Regions from separate parts of the Homo sapiens genome. Here region 1 is linked to region 2. The links are contacts of gene promoters, found by promoter capture Hi-C in human tissues and cell types (Jung and others, 2019). All regions are on one chromosome and are shown on one strand. The core of a region is centred on a gene start or on the middle of the fragment in contact, and the rest is flanking DNA. Distances in the headings are between cores, read along the strand shown.

Region 1 (5,163 bases), core at 2,301-4,800, 36 kb before region 2:
GGGAATGGCATTGAATTTATAAATTACCTTGGGCAGTATAGCCATTTTCACGATATTGATTCTATCCATGAGCATGGAATGTTCTTCCATTTGTACATGTCCTGTTTTATTTCATTGAGCAGTGGTTTGTAGTTCTCCTTGAAGAGGTCCTTCACATCCCTTGTAAGTTGGATTCCTAGGTATTTTATTCTCTTTGTAGCAATTGTGAATGGGAGTTGGCTCATGATTTGGCTCTCTGTTTGTCTATTGTTTGTGTATAGGAATGCTTGTGATTTTTGCACACTGATTTTGTATCCTGAGACTTTGCTGAAGTTGCTTATCAGCTTAAGGAGATTTTGGCCTGAGACGATGGGGTTTTCTAAATATACAATCATGTCTCTGCAAACAGAGACGTTTTGACTTCCTCTTTTCCTAATTGAATACTCTTTATTTCTTTCTCTTGCCTGATTGCCCTGGCCAGAACTTCCAACACTATATTGAATAGGAGTGGTGAGAGAGGGCATTCTTGTCCTGTGCCTGTTTTCAAAGGGAATGCTTCCAGTTTTTGCCCATTCAGTAAGATATTGGCTGTGGGTTTGTCATAAATAGCTCTTGTTTTCAGATACGTTCTATCAATATCTAGTTTATTGAGAGTTTTTAGCATAAAGGCTGTTGAATTTTGTCAAGGGCTTTTTCTGCATCTATTGAGATAATCATGTGGTTTTTGTCGTTGGTTCTGTTTATGTGATGGATTATGTTTATTGATTTGTGTATGTTGAACCAGTCTTGCATCCCAGGGATGAAGCCGACTTGATTGTGGTGGATAAGCTTTTTGATGTGCTGCTGGATTTAGTTTGCCAGTATTTTATTGATGATTTTTGCATCAATGTTCATCAGGGATATTGGCCTAAAATTCTCTTTTTTCATTGTGTCTCTGCCAGGCTTTGGTATCAGGATGATGCTGGCCTCATAAAATGAGTTAGGGAGGATTCTCTGTTTTTCTATTGATTGAAATAGTTTCAGGAGTGGTACCAGCTCCTCTTTGTACCTCTGGTAGAATTCGGCTGTGAATCCATCTGGTCCTGGACTTTTTTTGGTTGGTAGAATATTAATTATTGCCTCAATTTCAGATCCTGTTATTGGTCTATTCAGAGATTCAACTTCTTCCTGGTTTAGTCTTGGGAGGGTGTATGTGACAAGGAATTTATCTATTTCTTCCAGATTTTCTAGTTTATTTGCATAGAGGTGTTTATAGTATTCTCTGATGGTAGTTTGTATTTCTGTGGGATCAGTGGTGATATCCCCTTTATCACTTTTTTATTGTGTCTATTTGATTCTTCTCTCTTTTCTTCTTTATTACTCTGGCTAGTGGTCTATCTATTTTGTTGATAGTTTCAAAAAACCAGCTCCTGGATTCATTGATTTTTTGAAGAGTTTTCTGTGTCTCTATCTCCTTTAGTTCTGCTCTGATCTTAGTTATTTCTTGCCTTCTGCTAGCTTTTGCATTTGTTTGCTCTTGCTTCTCTAGTTCTTTTAGTTGTGATGTTATGGTGTCGATTTTGTTTTTTTTTACATATTTATTTTTTTGAGACAGAGTCTTGCTCTGTCGCCCAGGCTGGAGCACAGTGGCATGATATCAGTTCACTGCAACCTCTCCCTCCCAGGTTCAAGTGATTCTCCTGCCTCAGACTCCTGAGTAGCTGGGACTACAGGCATGCACCACTATGCCTAGCTAATTTTTGTATTTTTATTAGAGACAGGGTTTCACCATGTTGGTTGGCCAGGATGGTCTTGATCTCTTGAACTCGTGATCCACCCACCTTGGCCTTCCAAAGGGCTGGGATTACAGGTGTGAGCTGCTGCGCCTGGCCTAGGGTGTCAATTTTAGATCTTTCCTGCTTTCTCTTGTGGGCATTTAGTGCTATAAATTTCCCTCTACACACTGCTTTAAATGTGTCCCAGAGATTGTGGTACATTGTCTCTTTGTTCTCATTGGTTTCAAAGAATATCTTTATTTCTGCCTTCATTTTGTTATTTACCCAGTAGTCATTCAGGAGCAGGTTGTTCAGTTTTGATGTAGTTATGTGGTTTTGAGGGAGTTTATTCATCCTGAGTTCTAGTTTGATTGCACTGTGGTCTGAGAGACAGTTTGTTGTGATTTCTGTTCTTTTACATTTTCTGAGGAGTGTTTTACTTCCAATTATGTGGTCAATTTTAGACTAAGTGTAATGTGGTGCTGAGAAGAATGTATATTCTGTTGACTTGGGGTGGAGGGTTCTGTAGATGTCTACTAGGTCCACTTGGACCAGAGCTGAGTTGAAGTCCTGGCTATCCTTGTTAACCTTCTGTCTCATTGATCTGTCTAATATTGACAGTGGGGTGTTAAACTCTCCTATTATTATTGGGTGGCAGTCTAAGTCTCTTTGTAGGTCTCTAAGGACTTGCTTTATGAATTGAGTGCTCCTGTATTGGACGCATATATATTTAGGATAGTTAGCTTTTCCTGTTGAATTGATCCGTTTACCATTATGTGTGGCCTTCCTTGTCTCTTTTGATCTTTGTCAGTTTAAAGTCCGTTTTATCAGAGAGTAAGATTGCAACCCTTGTTTTTTTTTTTTTTTTTTTTTGCTTTCCATTTGCTTGGTAGATCTTCCTCCATCCCTTTATTTTCATCCTATGTGTATCCTTGCACGTGAGAGAGGTCTCCTGAATACAGTACACCAATGGGTCTTGACTCTTTTTCTAATCTGCCAGTCTGTGTCTTTTAATTGGAGCATTTAGCCCATTTACATTTAAGGTTAATATTTTTATGTGTGAATTTGATCCTGTTATTAGGATGTTAGCTGGTTATTTTGCCCATTAATTGATCCAGTTTCCTCATAGTGTCAGTGATCTTTACCATTTGGCATGTTTTTGCAGTGGCTGGTACTAGTTGTTCCTTTCCATGTTTAGTGCTTCCTTCAGGAACTCTTGTAAGGCAGGCCTGGTGGTGACAAAATCTCTCAGCATTTGCTCATCTGTAAAGATTTTATTTCTCCTTCACTTATGAAGCTTAGTTTGGCTGGATATGAGATTCTGGGTTGAAAATTCTTTTCTTTAAAAATGTTGAATATTGGCCCCCACTCTCTTCTGGCTTGTAGAGTTTCTGCCAAGAGATCCGCTGTTAGTGTAATGGGCTTCCCTTTGTGGGTAACCCGACCTTTCTCTCTGGCTGCCCTTAACATTTTTTCCTTCATTTCAACCTTGGTGAATCTGACAATTATATGTCTTGGGGTTGCTCTTCTCAAGGAGTACCCTTGTGGTGTTCTCTGTATTTCCTGAATTTGAGTGTTGGCCTGCCTTGCTACGTTAGGGAAGTTCTCCTGGATAATATCCTGAAGAGTGTTTTCTAACTTGGTTGTATTCTCCCTGTCACTTTCTGGTACACCAATCAAATGTATATTTGGTCTTTTCACATAGTCCATATTTCTTGGAGGCTTTGCTCATTTCTTTTCACTCTTTTTTCTCTTATATTGCCTTCTCACTTTACTTCATTAATTTGATCTTCTATCACTGATATCCTTTCTTTCACTTGATCGAATCGGCTATTGAAGCTTGTGCACGCGTCACGAAGTTCTTGTGCTGTGGTTTTCAGCTCTATCAGGTCATTTTAGGTCTTCTCTACACTGTTTATTCTAGTTAGCCATTCGTCTAACCTTTTTTCAAGGATTTTAGCTTCCTTGCGATGGGTTAGAACATGCTTCTTTAGCTCAGAGAAGTTTGTTATTAGTGACCTTCTGAAGCCTACTTCTGTCAACTTGTCAAACACGCTCTCCATCCAGTTTTGTTCCCTTACTGGTGAGGAGCTGCGGTCCTTTGGAGGAGAAGAAGCACTCTGGTTTTTGGAATTTTCAGCTTTTCTGGTCTGATTTCTCCCCATCTTTGTGGTTTTATCTACCTTTGGTCTTGATGGTGACCTACAGATGGGGTTTTGGTGTGGATGCCCTTTTTGTTGATGTTGATGCTATTCCTTTCTGTTTGTTAGTTTTCCTCCTAACAATCAGGCCCCTCAGCTGCAGGTCTGTTGGAGTTTGCTGGAGGTCCACTCCAGACTCTATTTGCCTGGGTATCACCAGCGGAGGCTGAAGAATAGCAAATATTGCTGCCTGATCCTTCCTCTGGAAGCTTCGTCCCAGAGGGGCACCTGCCTGTTTGAGGTGTCTGTAGGCCCCTCCTGGGAGGTGTCTCCCAGTCAGGATACACAGGGGGTCAGGCTCAAGACATACTTGAGGAGGCAGTCCGTCTGTTCTCGGAGCTCAAACGCCATGTTGAGAGAACCACTATTCTCTTCAGAGCTGTCAGACAGGGTTGTGTTTGTCTGCAGAAGCTGTCTTCTGCCTTTGGTCTATGCCCTGCCTCCAGAGGTGGAATCTAGAGAGGCAGTAATCCTTGCTGAGCTGTGGCAGGCTCCACCCAGTTAAAGCTTCCCGGCCACTTTGTTTACATTGTGAGCTACTCAAGCCTCAGCAATAGCAGACCCTCCTCCTCCCATCAAGCTGCAGTGTCACAGGTTGATCTCAGACAGCTGTGCTAGTAGTGAGCAAGGCTCTGTGGGCAGGGGACCCACCAAGCCAGGCATGGGAGGGTATGTCCTGGTTTGCCGGTTGTTAAAACCATGGGAAAAGCACAGTATTTGGTCAAGAGTGTACCATCTCTCCAGGTACAGTCTGTCACGGCTTCCCTTGGCTAGGAGAGGGAAATCCCCTGACTCCTTGCACTTCCTGGATGAGGTGATGCCCCGCCCTGATTTGGCTCACCCTCCGTGGGCTGCACCCACTGTCCAACCAGTCCCAATGAGATGAACCAGGTAGCTCAGTTGGAAATGCAGAAATCACCCATCTTCTGTGTCCATCTCACTGGGAGCTGCAGACTGGAGCTCTTCCTATTCGGCCATCTTGGAAGCAACTTGAATGTATTTTCTTTAGGAATATTATTGGCATCATGGAGATTCTGATTAAATTTCCCATCTTGGTGGTTAACTTAACAATGACTATATAAGTTATAATTAATTTGCTATTACATTTTTTAAAAATTTTGAATTAGGGCCCTATTCCTATAATTTGCTGTTGATGGTCTGTTATAATCTCTTAAGTTCTTGTTATCATTTGACAAGAGATAAATTTATTTCCACTTGTACATGTATCA
Region 2 (5,562 bases), core at 2,277-4,776:
TGGGAGTCTCTGTGGTGGCTCTGACCCTGTGACAGGTCTCTGCTTGGGTGTTGAGATTATCTAAGGCATCCTCCAAAACCTAGGTGGAGAAATCCATGTGTCCGTTCTGCAGGCTTGTGAATTAGCATCACATGGATGTCACCAAGGCTTACCAATTCTGCACTCTGGGGCAGTAGCTTGAGCTGCAGGTGGGCCCAACCTGAGACACAACTCAGCTGGCAAAGGAGTTCTGTGTCATAATGCAGAGAGCACAGACTTGAGGTGGCCCTGGGCAGTGAGTCCCAAGTTCCCCTCAAGGTCCTGGCACTCTGGGACTGTAATACACATGGCAGGCTTGAAGATATCTGAAATACCTTTGGAGTCATTTTCCCATTGTCTTGATGAATAGCACTTGGTTTTCTTCTTTTTATATTAATATCGTGATCAAATGGTTACTTGGCCACACCATTGACTTTCTTTTTGAAACGTACTTTATTATTCTTTACCTGGCCAGGCTGAAAATTTTCCAAATCTTTACATTCTCCTTCGTTTTTGATTACAAACCTCATCTTTCAATAGCTCCTCTCTCCTTACATTTACTATAAGCCATTAAGAGAAGCCATGCAGCAACCCTCAACACTTTGCTGCTTATATTTTTATAAGCAAATATTTTTATAATATTTTTCTGCCAAATATTATAATTCATTGCACTTAAGATTTGCCTTCCACAAAGTCCTAAGACACAGACACAATTCAGCCAAGTACTTTGCCACTTTATATCAAGGAGAGTGTTTCCTCTAATTTCCAATAACAGAGTCCTCATTTCCTTCTAAGACATCATCAGAATATTTTTTATCATCTGTATTTCTACCTACATTCTGTTCATGACCACTCTAGTAATCTCTAAGAAGAACGAGGCTTTCCCTAACGCTCTTCTCTTCTGAATCCTAACCAGACTTGTCCTTAATGCTTCATTCCTGAAAAATACAGGCTTTTTCCATCATTCACTTCAAAACTGCTGTAGCCTCCACTCATTACCTCTTTCCAAGACACTTCCACACTTTAGGTATTTGTTATAGGGACACTCCACTTCTTGGTACCTATTTCTGTCTTGACCTATTTGTGCTGCTATAACAGAATGCCAGAGACTAAATATTTATAAATGATGAAAATTTATTTTATTATAGCTCTAGGAGCTGGTATTTTCAAGATCCAGATGCTGACAGGTTTGGATGTCTCATAGGGGTCCCGTCCCTGCTTCTAAGATGGTGCCTTGATGTCTCGTAGGGGTCCCATCCCTACTTCTAAGATGGTGCCTTGAAAGCTCTTCTGGAGGAGAGGAACACTGGGTTCTCATGTGGTGAAAGACAGAAGAGCAAGGAAACTGAAGGCTGTGTGAAACCTTTTTTATAAGGGCTTTAGCCCATCAACAAGGAAAGAAGCCCTTATGACCTAAGCACCTACTAAAAGCCCCACCTCTTAATACTGTCACACGGGCCATTGTTTCAACACCTGAATTTTGGAGGGGAAACATTCAAACCATAGCAGATATCTACATAATTTATACCCAGTTAGAGACATCTCTCCAAGCACCTTCTCTCAAATATCCTTTTCACCAGTATTCTAATTATGCTCCTTCCAAGTCCCTGATCATCCAGCCTAACCATTAGTCATAGCCTATAAATTGATACATAATCACACATTTATTTATTTCTCCTTTTAAGCAAATTGGACAACCAAGTACATCAGTTAAAATTTTTCTAACTGGGAGGATTTCCCTTCACCATGGTCCTTCCAAAATGTCCCAGAAAGGAGCAGTAGTGCTGCAGCCACCCGCCTGAATATGGTGCACAACCATTTGTATCCAGGTCTGAGTCTTCTCTTCCACTGTCAATCGATTATAAGAAACTCCCTATGAAGCTATTGCTGAAGGCTTGCAGAGATAAGGCAGTGTAGCAGAAGTAGGGACATTAATAATTTACCTTTGCGTTAGTCCGTTAGTCTGTTCTTGCATTACTATAAAGAAATATCAGAGACTGGGTAATTTATAATGAAAAGAGGTTTAATGGACTCACAGTTGCACAGTCTGTACAGGAAGCATGGTTGAGGGGGCCTCAGGAAACTTACAATCATGGGGGAAGCTGAAGGGGAAGCATGTATGTTGTACATGTCCAGAGAAGGAGGAAGAGAGAGAAGGGAGGAGGTGTTACACACTTTTAAACAACCAGATCTTGTGAGAACTCACTATCATGAGAACCGAAAGGGGAAGTCCACCCCTATGATCCAATCACCACTCACCTGGACCCTCTCCAACATTGGGGATTGGAATTCAACATGAAATTTGGGTAGAGCAGCAAATCCAAACCATATCACCATCCATAATCCAAGTGCAGGCAATTTTATTTCTTTAATAAATACTTTTGCTGTCAAGAAAGGTACATGTCACTATTTAAATATGAAATATAAATATTACAAGTAGGTAAATTAGGTTTTCTTTTTTGAATGGATGCTCCTTAACATGTTATTCTGTTAATGCTCTAAAGAAAATTCTGAACATGCTATCACCATTTTCAAAATCGTTCAATAATAGTTCATTGGTTTTCCTGTAAGTTGGGGTAAAGAACATATCTTTGAACTACCCGACAAGGTCCCACCCATGCTGGCCTCCCTGAACACACTTGGTCCTTCCTGATTCTCTCTTTGCATACCAGCCACATTTATTATTTGTTGTTTCTTCAATGATCAAGGCTTTCTGATAATCTAGGTCTTCCCACCATGAAGACCTGTTGGATGCAAATGTCCACAGGCACTGCTTTGTTAAAAATAAAGGCTCTTGAGAGACCCACCCCAGAATTACTGAAACAGAATCTGCGTTTTGACAACATCACTAGGAAAATCATAGGCATTATAGTTTGAGAAGCACAGACCTAGGACACCTCCCACTGCAAGCCACTCCCTGGCTTTGTTTTACATTTGCTTTTTGTCTTCTTCCTAGTAAAATTTCCCATTGGATTTTAGCTTATAATGGGGGATCTAAATATATGTCTAAAATTTGCATGTCTGAAATTTGCATGGGAAGGACAATTGTATTTGAGGTTGCTCCCAAAGAGGATCTAGAACTTTGGCTTTATTAAAATTATGTTTTGGTTACTTCAAATAAGACTATACTAATTAAAGCACTAACAGTAAATTTTACATATAAACTAAAGTTTGAACAAATATGCCAGAAGTGTCATCCATGGTGGTAAATAGTAACATAAAGTGTTATTTCAATTGTTAAAACTAGAAGTGTCTACCATGAAATGATGTTTGTGATTCCAGAAGTTTGTAATGCCCTTGGGGACAACCTGAACTTACACTTGTGCAAATGCACAATGCCCATTAGAACAGCTTCAATTTGTCCTACAGGGAGTCCTCTGACACTGTTATGAGAATTTCAGTTTTTCATTCCTTTCTCTTCTGGCAAAAGACCCTAGTGGCACAACTGGGTCATTTATGTGCTCAAAGCATATTTAATAAACAACATTTTTCTATGCTTGGAAAAAGAAACCTTCAAAAAGAATGAATATGCCATGAATGGCTACCTGTATTATTGACATTGCTGTGCTACTGTATGTATTTTTGTTTAGAAAGCACAACGTGTTTAAAGGATATCCACAATTTCCTTCAATATATGGGTAAGGAAGAAATAACTTCTCTAATTTTTATTATAATTTATAGAAATGTTGATAATGCCATTTAATTCATTAAAATTTTAGATTGGGTAACAAGTTGTCATAATAGAAAGTCAGAAACTGGATGACTCTGACTGGACTATTTTTATATTTTAGTTTTATGACTCTAATATGGATAAAGAGTTATAAGACTGAATTTTTCCTTTAATATTTTGCTATTTTGTTAATCTTATTATGATGAGTTTATATAAATTAGGGCATTAAACAACTAAAACTTGGTTTAAAGATTCAGATAATAATGATTCTTAGAATTATTTCTTGGAATTATTCTGATATAAATACCCATTCCTCTGAATCAACCACATTCTCCAATTAAAACTTTTAAGGTGAGTCACTTACATATTAACTCCTGTATCCTTACACTCATGTTTGACAATAATTTGAGAGCTCACACTGTAAATTTTGTTGATGTGAATAAAGGTTGCATTAAGTAAAGTCCTGGTATTTTGGCTTTGGCTGCCTTGAAACCAATATCTTTTGTCCCTCTCTCCATATTCCAAATGTAGGATCAGTGTATTTAATTGGCCATCCTAGATCATGTCCCTTCACTTTAGATGTAAGAAAAATGGGAAAATGAGTTTCTAGTTCTTTTGGCAGTATGTTACCTCTGACAGCCACTATGATTTCGATGGCAAAAAAGGAGATCACACCTTGGCCATTTACAGGACATATGTCCACCTTGTTACCTCCTTAATATAACTTGCTCAAGTTGATTTTCTTGCCATTCCTTTTGGTTCTGTTTTACACTCCAAGGATGCATCATCTTTAACTATGCCTTTGACTGCCTTTGACTACCACAATGAATCCAAGCAATCATTTCTATTGAGCTCTAATAGGCTCATATTACTGATTGGAACACATCTAGTTGTCCAGATGATGCTCACTCCAAAAACTTGTCAGCACACCTGAGTTCTCAATGTTTAATATCCATCTTCCCAGTCACCAAGGGACTCCTCTCTCCTTCACTGACCACTTACTGCCTACAAAATATGTCACAGAATACTAGAGACTCTACATTCTGAATTCTTTAGAATCTATTTCTTTGTCTTACTGTCTCTTTCAATGTCATATCACACCAAGACCATACATTTAACATGCATTTGAATCCCCCGGAGGGTATTTTCAAAATGCAGATCCCCAGACCTAATTCCTTAAATAACTTCTACATTAAAACCTCATAACATATTTTTCATAAAAACTCACTCAGATAATTTTTATGTGTAATGTGATTTGGGATTGCCTGGGCCTTACTAACAAGTTTCTAATTAATATCCCTGAGTACAGTTTCTTCTTCTTGCAGCATATTTTCTACACTATCAAAAACTAAATTAAAAAAAATTAGGATGTAATTTCCCATCTTAAAATTTTTGGCACATGCTTATTGTATGAAGAATAAAGTTTAAGATACTTCACATGGCATTTATTTTATTTATTTTTAATTCAGACCGTACAAAAATCTTTCCTGTTGACATTGTATCATATGCCAGTCAAACAATTTTTCTACTGCACTCAATAGTGTCCATATAAATGTTGTGCATACAGAGAATGCCTCTTGTTTTACCTAAATCTGCTAATTACTGCACAGTTTCAAACCAAAATATATCATTTTTTCATGTCTTTATTGCAACAAATAGAGATTCATCAGCTATAGGACTGATCAAAAAATTGAGAGGGTTCTGATCATTTTAGGTTTTCCTTCAGCACCTCTTCCCCAATTTCAACTGATAATGCCATTGCAAATGTTCCCTTTCATTTGTTGCATTTTATTTTAGAGGGCATGCTGTGAGGACATGGAAGAGGAAAATGCAACATTGCTGACAGAGTTTGTTCTCACAGGATTTTTATATCA

The links. The method cuts DNA at HindIII sites, captures the fragments that hold promoters and counts their contacts. A contact is called where the count stands out against the background at its distance.
Region 1: a fragment that was not itself captured here is called in contact with the fragment with the promoter of OR5H1 in region 2 in 2 of the 25 tissues and cell types used here (adrenal gland and hippocampus).

The regions. Positions count from the first base shown.
Region 1 is chr3:98,091,639-98,096,801 of GRCh38, forward strand. No RefSeq gene overlaps it. Among named protein-coding and RNA genes, the nearest start is that of OR5AC2, 7.0 kb to the left of the region's middle. The HindIII fragment of the contact is 3,265 bases long and covers 1,919-5,163 here.
Region 2 is chr3:98,127,195-98,132,756 of GRCh38, forward strand. It overlaps OR5H1 (olfactory receptor family 5 subfamily H member 1), which reads left to right and starts at 3,527. Exons shown (of 2, transcript NM_001005338.2): 1 at 3,527-3,656; 2 at 5,486-5,562. The coding sequence starts at 5,504. The HindIII fragment of the contact is 17,473 bases long and covers 1-5,562 here.